Regions from separate parts of the Homo sapiens genome. Here regions 2, 3 and 4 are each linked to region 1. The links are contacts of gene promoters, found by promoter capture Hi-C in blood cells and fetal thymus (Javierre and others, 2016). All regions are on one chromosome and are shown on one strand. Each heading gives the region's core, a stretch centred on a gene start or on the middle of the fragment in contact. The rest is flanking DNA. Distances are from core to core; before and after follow the strand shown. Region 1 holds the start of METTL22 (methyltransferase 22, Kin17 lysine). Region 2 holds the start of LOC100130283 (a long non-coding RNA gene). Region 3 overlaps PMM2 (phosphomannomutase 2). Region 4 overlaps ABAT (4-aminobutyrate aminotransferase).

What was found. The method cuts DNA at HindIII sites, captures the fragments that hold promoters and counts their contacts. A CHiCAGO score of 5 or more calls a contact.
Region 2: a fragment that was not itself captured here is called in contact with the fragment with the promoter of METTL22 in region 1 in 1 of 17 cell types (neutrophils); the score reaches 10.7 in neutrophils.
Region 3: a contact is called between a fragment that was not itself captured here and the fragment with the promoter of METTL22 in region 1, in 1 of 17 cell types (neutrophils). The highest score is 6.5, in neutrophils.
Region 4: a fragment that was not itself captured here is called in contact with the fragment with the promoter of METTL22 in region 1 in 1 of 17 cell types (neutrophils); the score reaches 8.8 in neutrophils.

The regions. Positions count from the first base shown.
Region 1 is chr16:8,620,144-8,623,220 of GRCh38, forward strand. METTL22 (methyltransferase 22, Kin17 lysine) reads left to right here and starts at 1,555. Exons shown (of 11, transcript NM_024109.4): 1 at 1,555-1,632. The HindIII fragment of the contact is 6,720 bases long and covers 1-3,077 here.
Region 2 is chr16:8,847,944-8,851,020 of GRCh38, forward strand. PMM2 (phosphomannomutase 2) reads left to right here. Exons shown (of 8, transcript NM_000303.3): 8 at 1-1,382. LOC100130283 (a long non-coding RNA gene) reads left to right here and starts at 1,526. Exons shown (of 5, transcript NR_147908.1): 1 at 1,526-1,712; 2 at 1,906-2,050; 3 at 2,990-3,077. RefSeq lists an enhancer at 2,440-2,579. The HindIII fragment of the contact is 5,253 bases long and covers 1-3,077 here.
Region 3 is chr16:8,824,434-8,827,510 of GRCh38, forward strand. The region is part of intron 7 of PMM2 (phosphomannomutase 2); the gene reads left to right. Among named protein-coding and RNA genes, the nearest start is that of PMM2, 28 kb to the left of the region's middle. The HindIII fragment of the contact is 4,887 bases long and covers 1-3,077 here.
Region 4 is chr16:8,750,209-8,753,285 of GRCh38, forward strand. It overlaps ABAT (4-aminobutyrate aminotransferase), which reads left to right. Exons shown (of 16, transcript NM_020686.6): 5 at 214-331. Among named protein-coding and RNA genes, the nearest start is that of TMEM186, 46 kb to the right of the region's middle. RefSeq lists an enhancer at 1,143-1,887. The HindIII fragment of the contact is 2,732 bases long and covers 144-2,875 here.

The sequences.
Region 1 (3,077 bases), core at 305-2,804:
CAACATCCTCTGGGGATAACTAAGAGAACCCTCAGCGAACTAGAGAGAAAACTATGAATAGAATCTGGTCCCAAGACACCCAACTGGCTCTCTGTGTACTGTCCTGGGGGATTTCAGGAAACATAATCTGTTTCTTAAAAAAAAAAAAAAAAAAAATTCTTATTTGTGTCGCTTAGTCACCCTATCAACTCTCCACGTTTTATCATCAGTAACCATGAAATTGATGTTGATTTAATTCTATTTTGAAAAGAGAAAAAAAAGTAATTTAGACAAAGGTTGCCAGCTGAGGCCATGTGTGTGCGTGTGTGTATATGTGAACACACAGGGATATAGATTTTACATATGTGGACTTTACATATGTTCCTGTGTGTATATTTGTATGTTCACTGACATGTCTGAGAGTGAGCACCACTGTGTGTGTCTGGGCATGTCTGTGAACACGTCAGTGTGGTGTATATCCCTGGCAGCTCCCCATCTCACGCACAGTAAAATCCAAAGTTCTTAGAATGTCACAAAAGTTCTAACCCTGGCTACCTATGTATCCTCGTTTCCTGCGGCCCATCCCCTGGCTTACTCCATTGTGGCCAGGCTGACTTCCATGATGTCACTGAATATATAGATTGAGAAAAGGGCCAATATTATTGACTGTACTTTTTCTAAAAATGCAGTGACTCAGGCAAGAGACGTGAGAATCTGTGGTCTATCCTGCTCATCCTCTTCAGGGGATTCTTCTGAGGGCTGTGCTCAGTCACGGACTCAGAGGCTTTCTGAAATTCTGCAGGCAAGAAAAAACGAGCAAACATGGAGTCTTATGTTTGCCACTCTGTCTCACCCCCTTGGTGTTGGAAACTTGATGAGCATACGAATTAACGAAATCACTACCACCTAATGAAATCACTACCACCTATTAATAATAACAAGTACTGGCTGGGCGTGGTGGCTCATGCCTGTAATTTATGAGCTTTAGGAGGCCGAAGCAGGAGGACTGCTTGAAGCCAGGAGTTTGAGACCAGCCTGGGCAACACAACAAGATACAGTCTGTACAAAAAAAAAAAAAAATGGTGCCACGCAACTGTAGTCCCAGCTACTAGAGAGGCTGAAACAGGATTCCTTAAGCCCAGGAGTTCAAGGCTGCAGTGAGCTAAAATTGCGCCGCTGCACTCCAGCCTGGGTGACAGAGCAAGACCATCTCAAATAAACAAACAAACAAACAAACGAGTACTAAGAGCATGGATGACGGTAACACCCGTGATAATAAATACAGTAGCATGCTGGTTAAATAGCACCGGCTCTGATCCCACACCCCGGGTTCGAATCCAGGCTTTACCACTTAGTAGCTGGGAGAGTTATTTAACTCCTATTTAAGTCTTTTAGAGGAATGAGTTTAGCCACCTAGGCGGGTCCCCCCAGCAAACACGCCTCGCCCGCGACCAGAGCGAAGGCTACAGGTGCCCGCCGGCAACCCTCGGACGCATGCGCGGCCCGGGCAGGTAGGTGGAGCCACGGTGCGGGGCAGTCGGATGGTCGCACGCGGGGGCGGGGCCGCGCCTGCGCAGACCGCCTGTTATGGCGGCCGCCTAAGTCCCACAGAGACGGGAGTCGGGTGGGATCCCAGGCTGGGCCCCGCGGCGGGTAAGTGCCTGGGAGAGGCGGCGGGATAGGGTAGGGTGCAGGGAACCTCCTGGCGCCGAGCCTGACTTTGAAATCCGAGCTCCCACAGATCGGAGGCCCAGATCCCTAAGGCCCGACCCCACTCTTAGCGTCAGTTTCCCCTTCTCAACACGGGTGTTGGGGAAAGAAGTCCACGTCCTCACCTGGGTTTCCATCCTGGGTCCAGGCACCTCTCCTTCGGTTCTAGATTAGGAAGGGAGGGCAGTGCCCGACCTGTGACTGTTTTTTGAGAGGGCAATAGTTAACCCACAAGGGTGGCGTCAGGAAGGCGACAAGACAAAGAGAACGAGTAGCCCCACGGGGGACGTCCCCGGAGCCCCTCACTACCACTCTACGCACCGTGGCCAGGCCACGTCTTTCCTGCCCCCAGCCTGGGCCTTCACACCCTGCCCTCCCCAGCTCCTGGCCTAAATCGTCATGGGATCGCGCCAAATTATTGATTGTTGAGTGAGTTGCAGTTATCAGAAAGAAAGATGAGGAGGGAAGTTATTTCAACACCGTGATCCCAGCACACTGCTTATTTGGGACAACTGACTGGGGACCTATAGGAGAAGAAAGCTGGTAGCGTCTCAGTCTAGCCCCCACAGCCTTAGAAGAGCCAAGAACACGTTAGCTCCTGCTGCAGGGATGAGCCTGCAGCCCTATGGAGAGGTGGTGGGGCAGGTCCCCATCTGCAACCTGGGTCTCCTTTCTCAGCTCTGCCCAGTAAAGAGAGGAGCCCGAAGCCCATACAGACCCTGCATTTCCGGAAAGAGACTTTTCCTGACTAGAGAAACTGTTACCTTTTTTCTTTCTTCCCAGCATTCACTTTAATCATTATTATATTACTATAATGATAGTATTTACTATTGTTGCTTATTGAACGTTTACTATATGTCGTAAGCCCGAAAAGTGGTAATTGTCTCATATACTCCTCTGAGTATATGAGGGCCTGAGATAGGTTCAAGAGGGCCTCCTTATTCCCAGATAGCTGATTCTAGGGAAAGCCACTTAAAGGGAATCTCCTTCATCTGGAACTTACATTGCAGCGTACATTTCTTGGGAAGCCTGGTTGGGTTGAATTTAAAAATGGAAAATTCAACTAGAGATTAAGAATTTGAGTTTTTTTGTGTGTGTCTATACTTAAAATTTGGTGTGTAATATTATGCTCACTTTTGGAAAAAGCAAAGAACATTGATTTTTCTGGGATGTAAGTTTTCCAACAAAATTGCGCTATAGGCCATGCCTGGTGGCTCACACCTATAATCCCAGCACTTTGGGAGGCCAAGGTAGATGGATCTACCTTGGTCAGGAGTTCAAGACTAGCCTGGCCAACATGGCAAAACCCCATCTTTACTAAAAATACAAAAATTAGGTGGACATTGTGGTGCATGCCTGTAGTCCCAGTTACTCGGGACTCTGAGGTA
Region 2 (3,077 bases), core at 155-2,654, 230 kb after region 1:
CTATGCCAGGCATGTGCAGTCTGGACTTCCACCTCCAGTGCCAGAAACTTCCAGAAGGAAGGAGAAAACTCTTGTCAAGAATGGCCCAGAGGAATGCCTCGCACAAAAGGTCTTCCCCACCCACCCCCAGCCCCCTAGTCTAATACCCACCCTGATACGTGCAATCATGTAGTTTTGGCGGAAATTTCCCCATCATTCTAGGATGATACAGAAAGAAAAACTGTGCCTGGACCCTCCCTCTTGGTGGGTCTGTGGAAACATAAGCGGTTTTTTTAATGGGCCCCTGCATCAATACCAAACATGGGGGTTTGGTAATGAGAAACCAGGACAGGCCATCTGCAGTGACCCAGCCCAGGACGAAGTTTACAAACACCTCCTGGAACGAAGCTCCCGCCTGCATGTCACCTTGATGGGGGCTGTGAGTGGGGCAGTGTGATACCCAGTGACTAGACGCACTCTGCGTTTTCCCGTGTTTGGGGCTGAGGCCTGCTGGACAGATGGCTGGCCAAGTGGGAGCAGACCCTAGGGAGTTTGCACCTCGGCTGGGCCGGATTCGGACCGGCTCTGTGTTCACTACACTCAGAATAGCCTGGCTGCTTCTCTGTCTCCGAGACCGGAGGTAGTGGGAACCAACAGCTGGGCTGGAGAGTTGGTGCTGGCAAAACAGTCCTTGCCCTGGGGCCGGTTCTTACCCAGGTCCAGAGAAACCAACGCGGGATGTCAGACTTCACCAAAAGGACTTTCTGGTTGCCCCTGGCTGGCTTCCTGGAGGCGTTCGCCTCTAGTTTCTCAGGGATGGAGCGAGAGCCCAGCCAGAGAACAGTAAGAGGAGCTGCTCTCCTATCTGCACTCACCCAGGCCTTCACCCAGACTTTACCACGGAGGCGGCTGAGTGCAGCTACAGCTAGGTCCGCGTCCCTCACTCTTTTCATCTTCTGCACGTTCTTCGTGAAACTGGAAGGATCCCGGGTCTCAGCTAGAACACGGTGGAAGAGAACTTTCCTAGGAAACGGTTCATGTGTCACTTTTCAGGATGTGGAAACACTGAGCCATACACCCTCCATTGCTTGGTGCTGGGGTTGTGTGGCCTCCACTGGGCACTTGCCGACCTGAGTCTGGGGCCAGGGGAGCCCAGGCTGCCCTGCACTCCTGCCTCCCAGCCCACAGCCAGGTGCTTTCATCACAGCTAAACCTGGTTCCCTCCAAACCTCCCAGCCACTCGGGCTTGTAACTGTCTGAGCCCCGGATCCGGTGGGGTGAAAGCAGCCAGCTCATCCCAGTGACTCACAGGACACAGCCATCCAGCGGCATCTTTCCTTGTCGAATGATACTGTAATGACCTTCCAAAGTGAAGAGTAGCACATTAAAGTGATTTTATTGTTTCCTGTTTCTCATTCCGATTTCTTTTTCCTCCTATGTTCCCAGATTCTGGAATGGAACCCCAGCCCTTCCAGGTCTGAGAGCCACTCTTTCTTTACTCTGGATTTCTGTCACATCGGGGGCCCCTCCCTCTGCGGAGTTGCATGTTGCTGTTCCTGATGCACAGACTCCTCCCCCGCTGCTTTTCTGCCCACTGGGTCAGGATCTGCCATTCTTTACAAGTTTCCTTAACGTATTGCGTCAAAGCGAGACAACCGAGTCTTACTCAAACTTGTTTTAACCGGAGATGGAGGGTTGCTGCTGTGTCACCGCCTGCACAGGGCTGCCCTCAGGTGAGTACCCCGAGTCTGCCAGGCTGGGTGCTGATGCGCGGAGGTTTGGGCCGTCCCTGCCCCAGTTCCCACAGTGGCTGCTTGAGACCCTCCCCAGGCCCCTCGAGCCCCTCCTGCACTGTCTGCTGCCTCCCTTCTGCAGTCAGAATTGACACTCCCCTTCCACCTTCTTTGTCATCACATTGCATCCCAGGCCAGCTTCCTGGGGCTTACTCCAAGGGCATCGGCTTGCCCCGCACTGTGGTGGGATGTAAAGTGATAACAGCTAAACGACGCATGCACAACATGTCCTGGTGCCTTCTGCGTGACCCCAGAGCAGCAGGTTCTGCACATGGCAGGTAAGAGCACAGCTGCCAAGACCCCAAGCCTAGTTCTGCTGCTACAAGCTGCTGCGTGACTTAAGGTGAGTTCATCTTCGCCTCAGTTTCCTCCTCTGTCAAATGGGATAGTCCTTACCGTGTATGGAATTTAAAGCACTTTGAACAGTGAGTGTGAGCCATTACTAACTCAAGTAATACCCCTTCCCAACCCAGAACCCTATAAGGCAGGGACAGTCAGTCCCTCTCTCTGCTTTAGGGGGTTGCAGGATAAAGACACCGTCACAAGAAATTTAAACACAGTAGGTAAATTTTGAGCCACAGCAAAGCACAGAGGTTGCATCCAGGCCAGCTTAGCACTGTTGAAAGTCACCATCCCCAGCACTGCAGAAGCTGACCCTGAACTCAAGGTCACCCAGGGCTTAAGCCTCAGAGAAAAGGCCTGGGTTGAACCTGAGCAGTGGGTGAGTGCAGGGCAGGCCTCTGGCTCCCTGGAGGGAGAGGCTAGCCAGGAAGTTGAGCTTGAACCTGATCCCGAGGGAGAGGTGTGGGGCATGCTCATGATCTGTCCGGGAAGGTCTCTCCAGCTACTGGAAGGGGAGTGCCCACAGGGGCCAGGAGAAGGCAGTTGGGCAGATGTTGCCGTAGTCCGGACACATCCAGGCATACGTGGTTTTGAATCACTTCCTCTCCAAGGGCTGCTGCTTCCTCTCCACCCCTCCCAAGTGTTCTGGCTCTGGGCCCCAGCTGGCCACCTCAGCCCAGGCAGGCTCCTCCAACCTGAACGACAGGCAACCTCCACGCTGCCTGCCACGGCACCCCAAAGTCAAGACGTAGAACTCATTCCACCTCCTTCACCCGAGGCTGCTTTCCCAAACGTCTTCCCAGTCCCACCTTCAGTTTTGTTTTTTGTTGTTGTTGTTGCTATTGTTTTTGAGACAAGTCACTGTTGTTGCCCAGCCTGGAGTGCAATGGCACGATCTCAGCTCGCTGCAACCTCCGCCTCCCCGGTTCAAGCAATTCTACTGCCTCAGCCTCCCGAGTAGCT
Region 3 (3,077 bases), core at 298-2,797, 200 kb after region 1:
GTGACACACAGTTTAACAGAACAGTTATAATTATTACTCATAACATATACTGAGACGTATCAGAATTATAGGAGTCTTACACAATTTTGTAACACATACTAATAACATAGTTATACGACTATAAACCCAAAGAAAGTTAAACACTTTTTTATATTTGACAGTGCTTCCTACATAATTTTAATACACCAAATAAGCCAAATATGCCTCTTTTGGACTTTAGGGGACTTTTTTTTTTTAACTTAGAATTTGATCTTGGGAAGTTTGTTAAATATCAAAGGTTTGAAACACTAGATATCACAAAGTAGAATCCCAGGTCACCATAAGTAATTCATTTAGCCACAATGATAACTCAAACATTTTGTAACAGGAAAAACCTTTACTCTGATAGAGAGAAGACTCAGCTTTCTAAACAACAAAACCCAGTGAAGATAGCATGAGGCCAACTGAATCTTTCTTTTATTTTTTTTAATAGTTTACTCCAAAGCCAAATAAAAATCTTTCATTGTCTCTCTCTGTCAATATTACATAAAAATATTCTTCAAAAGAGAAAACCAAATTTTATCTCGCATTAGTGCATCTTTAATGCTAAAGCTAGTTTTGTTTTTGTTGTTGTTTGAGGTGGAGTCTCGCTCTGTTGCCCAGGCTGGAGTACAGTGGCACGATCTCAGCTCACTGCAAGCTCTATCTCCTGGGTTCATGCCATTCTCCTGCTTCAGCCTCCCGAGTAGCTGGGACTACAGGCGTGTGCCACCACGCCTGGCTAATTTTTTGTATTTTTTAGTAGAGACGGGGTTTCACCATGTTAGCCAGGATGGTCTTGATCTCCTGACCTCGTGATCCACCCACCTCGGCCTCCCAAAGTGCTAGGATTACAGGCATGAGCCACTGTGCCCGGCCTGTTGTAGTTTTGAGACGGAGTTTCACTCTTGTCACCCAGGCTGGAGTGCAGTGGCATGATCTCGGCTCACTGCACCCTCCGCCTCCTGGGTTCAAGCGATTCTCCTGCCTCCCAAGTAGCTGGGATTACAGGCACCCACCACCACTCCTGGCTAATTTTTGTATTTTTTAGTAGAGACTGGGTTTCGCCATGTTGGCCAGGCTGGTCTTGAACTCCTGACCCCACGTGATCGCCCACCTCAGCCTCCCAAAGCGCTGGGATTACAGTTGTGAGCCACCACTCCTAGCCAAAGCTAGTTTTTAATAAAATTTTACAAACAAATGTATCCGATTTTAGTTTGACTGTAGGGTAACATTTTCGTAAACCTTTTATATAACCCTTTATAATTGTTTGTTAACAAATCAGTGTTCAAAAATAAAACACTATTTTTTTTTTTTTTTTTGAGATGGAGTCTTGCTCCATTGCCCAGGCTGGAGTGCAGTGGCACATTCTCAGCTCACTGCAACCTCTGCCTCTCAGGTTCAAGCAATTCTTCTGCCTCAACCTCCCGAGTAGCTGGGACTACAGGCGTGTGCCACCACGCCCGGCTAATTTTTGTATTTTTAGTAGAGACAGGATTTCACCATATGGGCCAGGCTGGTTTCGAACTTCTGACCTCGTGATCTGCCTGCGTCGGCCTTCCAAAGTGCTAGGATTACAGGCATGTGCCACCGCATCTGGCATAAAACCCTATTATTTTGATATATGGGCCCAGATTCTGGCCCTGCATCAGTATGCTTTTAATATTTAATTTATGGAAAAAATTAAATAATACCCTTTCGATTTTAGCCAGCTTGCTCACACACAGAGTTGTTCACAAAGTTAATTTTTCACAAACCTACAATTTGCTTAAACTTTCAGTTTTATTTTGTCTTTCAACCAAAAATAATCTTTAAACTCTCTAAATTAGAGAAGATTTTCTCTTTTAAAAAAACCCATATTCCCATGTCTTTAAGCAGTTTTAATTACATACCAAGTGCAGAGCCTAGAATACAGGACAGAACTGCAGATAAAGTCTGACTCTCTCTGGCCTAGCTAGGAGTCATGGCTACCTCCATATGTCCCCAGGCCTTATCTGGAATCTAATGGCTCTAAAGTAGGTAAATTGAACAATTACAAAAGTCACAGAAGCCACTTATGACCTTAAAGCATCCAGCAGAAACAGTATCTGATCTGCCTAATTCAGACCAAATGAAGACAGTTTTATTTCATCAATAATCTTTAAAACTATCTTTATTTACCAAAGATTACTAACGTCATGTGAACTAAAATGCATTAGAGTTGCTATTTCTTTGAAAAAATATTTAAGTGCTTATTTTTTAAGCCAATTAATTACAGCTCTTAAACATCACACACACAACATTATAAATATATAGACCGAAGAAGATGCATTAGTTAAGATTTTTCATTTGCTGATTTTTTAGGGGTTTTTTTTCCCCATTTTACAAATCTTGTCACGACTCACAGAGACCATCTATGCCATGCTTGGACTGTCTGACTTGTCCTATGTGTCCCTCTTTCGTGAATAATCAGTCGTTCTATTTTAGGACAAGAATTTACCATACAAGATCTTTTCTCATATAAATTTCTTTTTTTATAATCATCCTTACCAAAAATACATCTTTATAGCCTCAACTTTTTTCACATATCTCTCTCCCCTACTAAAGTAATTCCTGATGCCCTCAAAAGTGAAAAAGGCCAAGTAATGTGATTCAAAACAGAACAGAGCCTTAGATTTTGAGAGGGGTCTGTCTGCTTACACTTCTTGGGGTTTTATGAGGAAAACAGAGTTTCTCCCAAAACAGGGTCTGTGGAGCCTTCTCTCTTTTTCCCAAGGAGTCCCCAGCTGTCAGAAAGTACCTTAGGTCCTCTCATGTGGGCATTCAGAGTGGCAGGAAGACAGACTGGGGAAATAATTCAGTTGACTGAGAAGAAAGACAAACAAAAACTCATTCCTCGAAGAAAAAAAAAAAATCCAGGAAGAGAAAAAGCACAAAGGCCTTTTTTTTATTTTTTTATTTTTATTTTTATTTTTTTTTGAAATGGAGTCTTGCTCTGTCACCCAGGCTAGATAGAGTGCAATGGCATGATCTAAGCTCACTGCAGCCTCTGCCTCCCGGGTTCAAGTGATTCTCGTGCC
Region 4 (3,077 bases), core at 260-2,759, 130 kb after region 1:
TAAAAAATAAAATCACAGCTTACTGAACTATTATAAAGCAAACCACCCATGCACTTAGCCAAAACAAGAAATACATTGCTGGCACCCACAGATGCCTCTGTGTGTCCACAGATAGTCACGATATGGTGTACTTCACTGATTCAAGCTTAATCCTAAAAGCCCAAGAATCTAGGGAGTGGCAGTGAGCCTGAGTTGGTCTTTTCTTTCTCCAAGAATGCAGAGGCTGTGCATTTTTTCTGCAATTACGAAGAGAGCCGAGGCAATTACCTGGTTGATGTGGACGGCAACCGAATGCTGGATCTTTATTCCCAGATCTCCTCTGTCCCCATAGGTAAGAGCTGGGAAATCATTCCTTGGATATAACCTCTGTTTCTGTCTCTCCTAGTCGTGGCTATCCAGGTATTAGGATGTGGCTTCCAGCAGGCACATCCCAGAGTGTTGCCTGACACTTCACCCAAGGGTAGGAAAAAAATAAATAATGTGTAAAGGGTATATTATTAGACATATTATATGTCCTCTCTCATCTACTCCTTCCCCAAATTCCACAGGGTAAGTATGTATTAATATCCCCATTTTGCAGATAGGTAAACAAAGCATAGAAAGGTTTGGTACCTTGCGTAGGAATCATAGCTAGAATGCAAACCCATCTGTGTGACCACAGTGGCACCCAGGTAGGTGTCTTAGGTTGAGTTTCCTCGAAGAAGAGCCTGAGGTGGGGATTTCCTTTTTCCCTGCTTTTTTTTTTTTTTTTTTTTTTCCAGACGAAGTCTTGTTCTGTCGACCAGGCGGGAGTGAAGTGGCGTGATCTTGGCTCACTGCAACCTCTGCCTCCCGGGTTCAAGTGATTCTCATGCCTCAGCCTCCCAAGTAGCTGGGATTACAGGCACACGCCACCATGCCTATCTAATTTTTGCATTTTTAGTAGAGACGGGGTTTTACCATGTTGGCCAGGGTAGTCTAGAACTCCTGACCGCAAGTGATCTGCCTGCCTCAGCCTCCCACAGTGCTGGGATTACAGGTGTGAGCCACTATACCCAGCCTAATTTTTTTATTTTTTGTAGAGATGGTGGTCTCACTATGCGCTGCCCAGGCTGGTCTCGAACTCCTGGACTCAAGTGATCCTCCCACCTTGGCCTCCCAAAGTGCTAGGATTTCAGGTGTGAGCCACTGAACCCAGCCAGAGGTAGGGATTCTTGGGCAGGTTATTGATTGAGGGAGAGCTCTCAGGAGAAAGGGGAGGAAAGGAAACAGCCTGGGGCAGGGGGAATAAGCTAAGAAGGATGAGGTCTTAGCTAGAACTATCCACAGCCTGACCCCACTTCGGGCTCTGGTGCATACACCACACCCCAGAGTTGGTCTCAGACTGAAGCAAAGGGCCTGGCTTTTTATGACCCTTCACCAGCCAGTCATCGCCCATCAGCTGCGAGAGGGGAGAACTCGTATAATCTCCTCGGAAAAGTGGCTTCCATTTGCCAAGGGCGATTTTCCAGGCAAGGAGGCAGCTGGAGTTATTATCAATCAACACACACAGCAGCTGGAAAACGGTGACCTGCCCAGTAAAAGTGACCTCGGTGGGATGCCCACAGCGTCTGCCTCCCCAGCCTCGCCTCCCAGCCATATAGAGTGTTCACTCGCTGTATAAAAGGGCACACAGACAGGATGGACAGGGCTAAATTGGAAATGCAGGTAGCTGCTATTTGCAGCTTGGATGGTTAATGTTTCTTTGGCTGATGGATTCCTGGCTACATTGAGTAGTCCATAGGCTGTGTCTGATGAAGCCTGTCCCTTCACAGGTAATGCTGGTTCTTCTGCTGCAGAAGAGCCCGGGGCATCCTCCGCTCCCCATCAGCACCTCCCTTTGGACCCTGCTCAGAAGCCTGGAGCCTTTCCCTGAGACCCAGCCTTGGCTGTCCCCCCTCCTCTTCTTCCCCTGCTCATTTCCTCACACCTATTTATTTGCCACTAACATGAGATTAGACAGTAAGCGGATGACTCATTCTTTGGGGGAAGTCCATCATTCAGGAATGCCTCAGCTATGGAAGGCATTTTGGAGACAAGAATTTAAAAACCCCATCTCCCCTTTGTGTGGGAGTGGAAGGGATGGGCTCTTGAGTTGTCCTGGGTTCAAATCCTGGCTCTACTATATATTAGCTGTGGGACTGTGACCCACCCCCGAGGACTCCCTCAGTCTGAATGCCCAGCTAGCCACTGTGTGCATGAAGGTCAGGGAATCAGATTAGCAGCATTTGTTTAAAAAACTAGAAGTTTGGTCGGGCACGGTGGAGCACGCTGATAATCCCAGCACTTTGGGAGGCCAAGGGAAGAGGATTGTTTGAGGCCAGGAGTTTAAGACCAATCTGGGCATTATAGTGAGAACCAACCCCAATCTCTACAAAAGAGTTTTAAAAATTAGCTAGTCATGCTGGTGCATGCCTGTAGTCCCAGCTACTCTGGAGGCTCAGTCAGGAGGATCTCTGGAGCCCAGGAGTTTGAGGCTGCAGTGGGCTATGATCACTCCACTGCACTCCAGCCTGAGGCAACAGTGCAAGACCCTGTCTCAGTAAAAAACAAAAACAGAAAAATTCTAGAAGTTCTAAAAGTTCTCTCTCTGGCCACCTGTCCTCCCGTATCTGTAGTCTTTGAAAAGATTTTTTTAAGTTAATACTTATAGAGAATTTACTATGCACTTGGCATATTGCCAAGTGCCTTATACATTATCTCATTAAATGGCTACAGCCACCTTGGAGTAGGGTCTTCTAACATCACCTCCAGTTGACTGATGGGCCCGAGTCTCAAGAGCTTGCAGGATTTTCCTGGCATACACAGGGAGTCCAAGGCTAAGCCAGGCTGTGCACAAACAACTCTCTGCCTCCCAAGCTTATTCTTTTTTTTTTTTTTTTTTTTAGACGGAGTCTTGCTCTGTCGCCCAGGCTGGAGTGTAGTGGCATGATCTCGGCTCACTGCAAGCTCTGCCTCCTGGGTTCAAGCGATTCTCCTGCCTCAGCTTCCCAAGTAGCTGGGACTACAGGTGCCCACCATCATGCCTGGCTACTTTTTTTTGTATTTTTAGTAGAGAC